3 separate regions of the Homo sapiens genome follow, and regions 1 and 2 are each linked to region 3. Evidence: promoter capture Hi-C in 16 types of primary human blood cells and fetal thymus (Javierre and others, 2016). All regions are on one chromosome and are shown on one strand. Each heading gives the region's core, a stretch centred on a gene start or on the middle of the fragment in contact. The rest is flanking DNA. Distances are from core to core; before and after follow the strand shown. Region 1 holds the start of TTC5 (tetratricopeptide repeat domain 5). Region 2 holds the start of TPPP2 (tubulin polymerization promoting protein family member 2). Region 3 holds the start of TRY-GTA5-4 (tRNA-Tyr (anticodon GTA) 5-4).

The links. Contacts are between HindIII fragments. The CHiCAGO score rates a contact against its expected background, and 5 or more counts as called.
Region 1: the fragment with the promoter of TTC5 here is called in contact with a fragment that was not itself captured in region 3 in 8 of 17 cell types (total CD8 T cells, activated CD4 T cells, non-activated CD4 T cells and 5 more); the score reaches 7.6 in total CD8 T cells.
Region 2: a contact is called between the fragment with the promoter of TPPP2 here and a fragment that was not itself captured in region 3, in 2 of 17 cell types (monocytes and M1 macrophages). The highest score is 5.3, in monocytes.

Annotation. Positions count from the first base shown.
Region 1 is chr14:20,304,343-20,307,271 of GRCh38, reverse strand. It overlaps TTC5 (tetratricopeptide repeat domain 5), which reads left to right and starts at 1,321. Exons shown (of 10, transcript NM_138376.3): 1 at 1,321-1,385. The coding sequence starts at 1,335. RefSeq lists an enhancer at 1,176-1,415. The HindIII fragment of the contact is 10,592 bases long and covers 1-2,929 here.
Region 2 is chr14:21,028,758-21,031,747 of GRCh38, reverse strand. It overlaps TPPP2 (tubulin polymerization promoting protein family member 2), which reads right to left and starts at 1,531. Exons shown (of 4, transcript NM_173846.5): 1 at 1,444-1,531; 2 at 994-1,235; 3 at 583-736. The coding sequence starts at 1,166. It also overlaps a transcript of NDRG2 not described here. The HindIII fragment of the contact is 5,962 bases long and covers 1-1,725 here.
Region 3 is chr14:20,661,341-20,664,423 of GRCh38, reverse strand. It overlaps TRY-GTA5-4 (tRNA-Tyr (anticodon GTA) 5-4), which reads left to right and starts at 1,139; the gene lies at 1,139-1,232. LOC124903281 (a long non-coding RNA gene) reads right to left here. Exons shown (of 2, transcript XR_007064059.1): 2 at 2,011-3,083. RefSeq lists silencers at 765-834, 2,783-3,002 and an enhancer at 945-1,224. The HindIII fragment of the contact is 1,499 bases long and covers 750-2,248 here.

The DNA.
Region 1 (2,929 bases), core at 72-2,571, 360 kb after region 3:
GCTGAGGCGGGTGAATCATGAGGTCAGGAGATCGAGACCATCCTGGCTAACACGGTGAAATCCCGTCTCTACTAAAAATACAAAAAATTAGCCGGGCGTGGTGGTATGCACCTGTAGCCCCAGCTACTCGGGAGGCTGAGGCGGGAGAATCGCTTGAACCTGGGAGGCCGAGGTTGCAGTGAGCCGAGATGGCGCCATTGCACTCCAGCCTGGGCTACACAGTGAGACTCCATCTCAAAAAAAAATTTTTAAAACATCCCTCCCTATTTTACAGCTAACGACATAGATTTTATAGGTTACAATACAAACTATTTCCTTTATGTTGGAAAATGATTTGAGGAAATGATTTTATGTATATTCATGATTTCTGCCTTGAACGTTTTACTTCTTTGTTAGTTTCACAGAATCAGCTTGAAGCTGTAATTAAAACTAAAAAAGTAAAGCAAAACTGCCAGGAATATTACATGACACTTTAAAAGATTTATTCAGAAGTTTAATATATTCACAAGGTACAAACTTTAAAGTTACAAAAAAGGCATAGAGTGAAAAGTCTACCCCAGTTCCCTGGTCACTCATTTTTGCTCCAGCCACTCACTTCTGCTCTTTGTAAGCGATAGTCTTGCCAGTGTCTTGTGTCTCTTTCCAGAGACTATGTAGAAGCAAATAATTTTTTATTTAAAAATGTTTATATTTGAATAGGTGATACATATAGATGGCAAGAAAATTCAAAAGGGCAGGCAGTGAAAATTTTCTTCGCTCACCCACAGTTCCCCAGTTTCTGTGTTTCCCTCTGCAGAGACAGTCATCCTTTCTTATATATCCTTCTGGATGTTGTCTATAAATATGGAGGCATTGTTAGTGTAGAGCATGGTGGTTTTTATGAGCCATCCCAAGTGTAGTATTTATTAAGATAGTGCATTAAAATGATAAAATTAATCATACATAGAAAATTACTGCAAAGTTTGGAAAAGATTGAGTAAAGTAGCTATTGTACTACATGGCTTTCGAAATTTCAAACAACACAGGTGTGCACTTCTTAAACTCTCTTCTTTATGGAGTATTATAATCTTAGTATAAATAAGTAGGAAGACATGAAACAAGAATATAGAAATTAAGCTGAGGACATTTTGTTTCCAGGATCTGGGAAAGAAAGAAGTTTATGAACTCACAAGTGATTGTAGAGCATCTCTGTGGAAATAAATGGTTAAGTCGGTTTGAAGCAAAGCCCTTCTGGGGCAGAAAAGCCTCCAGAACGCCAGATGTCGCTGTGGTTCCGCGGTGAGAGAGGGCGTGCGTCTCTGTGGTTATAAAGTTGGGGGTGGAGTGGCCGGGAGATGATGGCTGATGAAGAGGAAGAAGTCAAGCCGATCTTGCAGAAATTGCAGGTGGGGCCGTAGATTAAATTCTGTATGTGTTTTTGTTACTCCGAATGAAGCAGGGAGTCCAGTTTATGTACTGCCCGTGAATTCCTCGGCACACACGCGAAGCTGCGTGCGTCTGTGTGGTTACTATAACAACCCTCGAGGGTGCAGCCGCAGCCAGCCAGGGAGCCTCGTTGGAACCTCCTGCTGCCGACCTGACTGCGGTTAATTTCAGTCCTGTATGGAAGAAGATTTGTTGCTCCTAACTGTTCATGTACATTTTTAGAGAGGACGTTGTTTTCTCGATTCATCCATAGCGAATAGCATATACATGTGTGTGGCAGATCTGCATGAACTACTGTCACATGTTGTTTTGATCCCTACAAAAGCCATTTAACACCTTTCTGCTTTGAATTTGGCAACAATCACGCTAATGACCTGCACTGCAAGTGTCCTGGTTACTCCCCTTAGGATTTCAGTTTTGATTTCTTTCAACCTGTGTAATTCCACTTTGGGGTCTGATGCAGAGGGGTCCAGACTCCACATAGTCCACAGGTAAGACTAGTCTTTTGGACTTGGTAGGGAGGCGTTAACTAGTTGCTTGGCTCTTTGCCTTTAAGAACCCATGATTTTCCTTACACCTCAGGAACTCAGTTCTTCGTTCTAAGGCAGCCTGTAACTTAAATATTAGAACTATGACAGGCTTGTAACTTGCCTAAAGGTGTTTAACGCACAAATTTAAATACTGGTGAAATTTCTTTGTTCTTGGGTACATTAAAATAGTAACACTTTTTAGAGTGTTCCAGCTGATTTGGATTAACTTCATTTTATTCCCTAACTGTGACTGGCTGAAATCAGAGATTCTCAATTCTGGTTCTATATTAGAAACATTATTTGTGTATATATGTTTGTATATGCACAGAAAAAAATCTGAAAAGGTATACAAATCAGTGGTTATCACTGAGGTTCTTTGGGGTAATTTTGTACTTTCTTTTTTTTACATGTATCTATTTGAATTTTAACAACTTACATGTATTGATTTTGCCATGAAAAAATAAGTTTCTAAAAACATTCAGTCCAGAGGAAAACAAAACCAAACAATAAAACCAAACAACTTCTTGAATGTTTGGTTTAACAACTAAAACCAATCAATAAGCCCTTCTCTAAAACTCTTAATTTGCAGCCATGTTGATTGCAGGACAAAAGGAAATTGGTTGTAATTTTTTATGAGAATTGTCTTTTCCTAGGTTCATTTGTGGTAAATGTCCTAAGCAGCTTGGGAGAGGATACTTCCGTTATCTTGGGGTGGGGTCGGTGCAGGAATGGAATAAAGGAGTGAAGTAGAGAAGAGGAAAAGGATTAGATAATGGTGTTGCTGTTCATGGAGATGGTGGTAAACTTTGATTTCATTGTTAAAGACATTTTAGTGTAAAAAGAGTGTATAAATGGATATTTCTCAAAGTGTGTTTTACAGACAGTTTCATTACAGTCATCTGGGGTGCCTGTTAAAAATGTAGAATTTTGAGTTCTGCTAAACTGTTAAAATCAGAGTCTCTGCAGGCTGGGTC
Region 2 (2,990 bases), core at 282-2,781, 370 kb before region 3:
ATACAGCTGTGGGCAGGTACTCTGGTAAGAGCCGTTCACTCATGGGGGAGGAGGAGTGTGGTGTGGGAATGAGTGTGGCGTGTGCAGAGGGAGGGTAGGTTTTTTGTTTCCAGAGGAGTTATTCTGACTAGGCTGCTGCCTGAGGACTTCACTCCCACTCCCCGACTCAATATCCACTGTAGAAAGAGCTTTTAGTTCAGACAGGACAATTAAAAAAGGGAGTAGGTGAGAGGCAGGAGGCCTGAGATTAAACCCTAAATAAGAATTGGAAGAGGAGTGGGCATCAGGTACCAAATTCTCTACACTAATGTCCTCCAAAAGCTACCAAGCCCTAATTGCCTGGCTCAGATACTAGACACTTGGAAATTAGTCTAAATCTACTATTAAAATAGCCATGGACCTTGGGCAAGTCACTTCCCTTCTCTGGGCCACATTTTCCTGACTTCTGGAATGTCTAGATGATCTCTAAAGTCTGTTTCGGCCCTGTCTCTACAGTCACACAGTTGGCAGGGTTAGGGAGGGTAGACTGGAACAATGGGGATTTAGGGAAGTAGGGTCAAGGGGATGAAGGCTGTCACTCACAGTAGCGCCAGTGGTGGCTGGGTCTTTGCCCTCCATGAGTCCATAAATGTTCTCCAGGACTTCATCTGGACTCTTCCCTTTGAAGCGCTTCTGGCCCAGTTCCTTCACTGCCTCTTTGAACTGTTGAAACGTGATGGTTCGGGCGTTCTTGGCCCTGGTCAGTTAGACAGAAATCCAGAAACTTTGGAGCATGAATGCATTACCTTCCAAGGTCCAACTCTTGCCTCACTCAGATTTGGCCTCTTTTGTCCTATCAATCAGTGAGTGTCTCGAAGACAAAGGATAGCACAGCGCCAGGTACCCTGTGGTGCTTGGTAGGCCCACTGCAAATGTTCCACCACGTGAACCCTTCCGTGGCCAACTACCTCGCAGGTTCTTCTCACCCCCACCTCCATATTTTTGGCTCCTCACTTGACTTTGCTGAACACGATGTCCACGTCCGTGGAGGTGACTGTCTTGCCATCCATGATGCCACAGTCTTTGCACAGCTTGGAGAAGTTCTTGTTGTTCATTTCAGTGCCACTGCTTGATGATTCTCCAAACGCAGCAAACCGATGGAATGTTTTTTCTGCCTCTGATGCCATGGTCAGCTAGAGGTCGGGGAGGGCAGTCGTGGGAGACACTTGGGGGTGAAGGAGAAGGGGGAGGGAGGACTGTGGAGTAATGAGGATGAGTGTTATGGTAAAATCAGTCAGCAACAGGAACAGCTCCCCTCTTCCCTGTTGCTCTCTCCTTTCTCCCTCCCAGCTCCCATTGCACCTACGCAACTACAGCATGAGTCTCCCATTCCCAGCATTGGAGATACCAGTGTGGATCCTACCTACTGAATGATCCTCTCTTTCCCCTACCTCTTTTATGTACCTTAGAGTACCCGGATGGTGGTCTGACCCTTCCCGGCCTTTGTATTTAAGTGTGTGCAGATATGTGGGAGCCGGTTGGCTGTGGCAATGAGGAGACAGAGGGAGGAGAGGGAAGATTCTATGACCTCAGCAGTGGTTATGTGACATCACTTCTGGCCCCAGCTACAGCCATTGCCTTCAAAGGAGGGGGCTTTTGGTCTCCCTACCTTGCATGCCGAATTGAGCAAACTGCCAACTTTCTGACCTTTTCAGATGATCACATTTCCATCATTTCAGCCAAGCTTACCCATCCTCTGGGTCCTAGTCAAATTGCCTTATGCTCTGCCCCACAACAGAAGCTGAGGCGAGCCCAGGGAAGGTGTTGTAGTCTGTTTGGGCTGCTAGAACAAAATATCAAACTGGGTGGCTTATAAACAACAGACATTTATTTCTCAGAGCTCTGAAGGCTGAGAAGTCTAAGATCAAGGTGCTGGCAGATTCAGTGTTTGGTGAGGGCTGCTTTCCGGTCCATAGATGGCACCTTCTTGCTGTGTCCTCACATGGTAGAAGGGGTGAATGAGTTCCCTTGGGCCTATTTATAAGGGTATGAATCCCATTCAGAAAGGCTCTGCCCTCATAAAACTTAATCACCCCCCAAAATGCCCCATCTCCTAATACCATGACTTTGGGAGTTAGGATTTTATTTTATTTATTTGCGTATTTATTTTGAGATGGAGTCTCGCTGTCTGTTGCCCAGGCTGAAATGCAGTGGCATGATCCTGGGGCACTGCAACCTCCAGTCCCAGGATTCAAGCGACTCTCATGCCTCAGCCTCCCCAGTAGCTGGGATTAGCCCAGCCACTATGCCTGGCTAATTTTTGCATTTTTAGTAGAGACGGGGTTTTGCCATGTTGGCCAGGCTGGTTTCGAACTCCTGACCTCAAGTGATCCACCTGCCTCAGCCTCCCAAAGTGCTGGGATTACAGGTGTGACCCACTGCGTCCAGCCGGGAGTTAGGATTTTAATATATGAATCTGTGGACAACATAAACATTCAGACCACAGCAGTTAATGAAAACGGATTAATGAAAACAGGCTGTCATGTTTTCTAGTCTCCAGGCTCAAGTGTAGCATGGAGAATCCCACTGGCTTTAAAAGGCCAGTCGCAATAGAAACATTAAATAGCTTCCAGTGTTGGGCCCAGCAAGCCTTGGAGTATAACAGATGTGGACAGGTCAGGATAAAACTGGGATAGACTGAGGGTGAGGCTCAGATTCTGAAAATCTTCAGATAAGTTTCTATGCAGGTCAAAGATGTTCCTCAGGGTTTTCTCTCTTCGGCCTTTTCTCTGGCCAGAAGCACTACAGATAGATGAACCTCACGGATCCTAAAACAGAGCAACGAGACTGGTGACTTTCCTCCTTTTCCCATCTAATAATGCCACCACTTTCTATTTTTTTTCTTTGTCTTACAAATCTATGCCTTTCTTTCCATTCCTATTGCTTCCACCCTTATTCAAGTTCTTATCATCTCATAGTTGGATGACTACTCTGGTTTCTAAATGATCTCT
Region 3 (3,083 bases), core at 250-2,749:
CAGCCTGGCCAACATGGAGAAACCCCAAGTCTTTACTAAAAATGCAAAATTAGCCGGGCGTGGCGGCGCATACCTGTAATCCCAGCTACTCCGGAGGCTGAGGCGGCAGAATCGCTTGAACCTGGGAGGCGGAGGTGGCGGTGAGCTGAGATCGCGCCATTTCACTCCAGCCTGGGCAACGAGAGTGAAACTCCATCTCAAAAAAAAAAAAAAAAAAAGAAGAAGAAGAAGAAGAAGAAGAAGAAGTGCCTTTCACCTCCAGCCATGATTCTGAGGCCCCCTAGGCATGTGGAACTGTGAGTCCAATTAAACCTCTTTTTCATCCCAGTCTCGGGTATGTCTTTATCCGCAGCATGAAAACGGACTAATATACTTGCCCTACTTCAGAAAGAGGAAGCCTCTGGGGGAGAAAAAAAAAAGAGTTCTTGGTCAGTTTGCAGAGGAGGGAAGCCAAGCCCCAGTTGGGCGCTGGGGAGGAAGGAGGGTATCACAGTGCATCTGCAAGCCCTGGGCGAGTTCTTCTCACCTAGTCCCATTTGTTCTCTCTCTCACTTCTAGCACACTTGAATGCGCCAAAAAGCAAGCATAGGACACTGTAGGGAAAAGGGCGGAGGCACATCGGGAGAAGGGGCATGTGTGTGTTGGCCGGGAAGGGAGTAGGAAGGCCAGAGTTTTAGGAAAGGGCTGCTTAAGGACTTTCAGCAGACCCTGCAGCTGGTCTGCGGATAGCGGCCGCCCACCCAGAAGCTTTCCGAGTTCTTCTTTCCTCCTCCTGCAACCCCTGTCCCACAGGATCCACCCATCCACCTAGCCCATCCCTCTGACCGAGCCCTCTCACCCTCTTGTTTTCTTTCGCTGAGGGCTGTCATCCTCACTTGTAAAAACAGAGATGCACAGGTGGAGGAAGGCCACAGGCGAGAGCCTCCCGTCCTGGATTGTGGCTATCAGCGCTCTGGGACGCGAGGAAACCACACTCGGAGGATTTGCTCCACCCTGAGAGGTGCGCGGTGGCAACCAGCGCAAGGTTCTCTTCTAAGGCGGGTTCCAATCAACTCTAAGTGTGTTGACTCCAGCGTTCCAAGGACTTGGCTTCCTCCATTTGCGGAAAGTCCAGTGATCCAGCTCTTGCAGCGTGCACCCTTCGATAGCTCAGCTGGTAGAGCGGAGGACTGTAGATTGTACAGACATTTGCGGACATCCTTAGGTCGCTGGTTCGATTCCGGCTCGAAGGAAGTGCCCGATGCTTTTGCATGCAATGCCACCTGGTGCCTGGTCAAACGCCCTGCAGCCTCCAACTAGTATCCACCCACACCCTCCCAGTCAAAACCCAGAGAAACCTTTCCTGATCACCTGGTTTCCACACCTGTGCTGTGGCCAGGAAACACGCCCGTAAGCCCACTCATTCTTCCCACAGTCCAGGGACAGGTACTCTTCAACGCAAAGGGCCCCTTGCTTCTGCTTTGTGACCCAGTCAGCCCCTCTCCCCAACCCCCTTCGCACCCCCACCATCCAGAGCTCTTTCACTTTTATCCACAGACTGCTCTGGGTGCTGAGGGCCATGGACTCTAGCAACATTGTGTGCTCACCATTGATAGATCTCTCGATCTATTAAACCAGTGGGCCCACCATCAACTCCTAGAAGATCAAGCCTGCTGGAAGAGAAAAGGGTCAGAGACAACTGTGACATCCTCAGGAAAAAAAAAAAATGCTCTCTATGCTGTCTCTCTCTCATCTCCTTCTCCAGGTCTCTAGCAAATGCTTTTCTATCTGAGCATTCTCTCTCTCTCTCTCTGTTTTTCTCTGACTCTAGTTCTCTCATTATCTTTTGCTTGTAATGTATAGATGTATACAGACAGAAAATGTTCATTTCTGTTTTGTTTTGTCTATTTGTGGGAGAGAGTTGCCGCCCTGAGATTTTCTTAATAAATAGGGCTTCCACTGGCTCCATAATATTTTCCTTCAGGTTGAGAACAAAAATGTGCCCCCTTCCCACATACACCAAGCCTCACATTTCCCGAGCCTTCGCACCTTTTAATGTTGCTACAGTAAACTTTGGGCTCCTGCTGGAAGAAGAAAGATACCTTCCACTCAGTTCAAAGTCTGCAAAAACACCTATACCAAGTGTCTTACTGGTTGTGAAGGTGTGAGAGAGGGAAAGAGAGTATAAAAGGGCAGACTTGGAAAGAACTTCAGTGACCCGGGAGGGTTGGGGGCTGTTGGGTCCCTGGCAGGGAGCAGAATTGAAGCTTGGGTGGCAGCTGCCACCTTGCAGAGGTACACAAGTTCACCTCCTTAGGCCACTGGCTTGTTGCATCTGAGCAGCATGCTCACTTTTATGTGGGGGCTCTGCAGGCACAGCTGGAAGGTTGCGCCTTCTACAAGAGGAAGATGGCTGGCACAATCTGAGAGCATGAAGCAGGAAATGGGCTTGGCTTTCACCAACTGGGCTTCACCTCTGGGAAGATGAAGTGGGTTCATCAAAGTATGAGCCAGAGAGGAACCACAATGAGTGTCCCCTGGTCCCATCCTATGCTCTGGGGAAAAAAAAAAAAATCTTCAGACGCTTGATATACAGATGAAAATTATCACAGAGAGCACTGCAAGCAAAACAGTGATGGAAATTTGGTTCTCAGAGGCCTTCTGGGAACCCGGTGACCACTCTCCCCTACCCGATGGGCATAACTGCTTTTTCACTCTGCGTCTCAAACTAGAGAGTACACATGTCTTCCCCTCCTAGAAAGCAGATCCTGTTCTCCCCCTACGGCCTATTCCCTACCTCTTCTCTGTTGTATCAGCCTTTCCTGCTTCCCACTGCTGATGGAAAGGGGCAGAGCTGTGGACTCACCAGTGCCCCAGCAACATTCTGTAGCTCTGCAGCCCCAGAGAGATCCCAGCCTCGAATGACATTGCTGCAGAGATCAGCAAACAGAAACCAAAGTAGAACCTTTGGTCTATACTGGATATGTCCTTGATAAGATGTGGCGGTACCAGGTTTTTTGGAACCTAGGCTTGGTGCTTTGAGGGAAAAAACAGAGGTGGGCCATTGAGTGGTGTTTGGTCATCAGCAAAAGTGTGGGTGATCC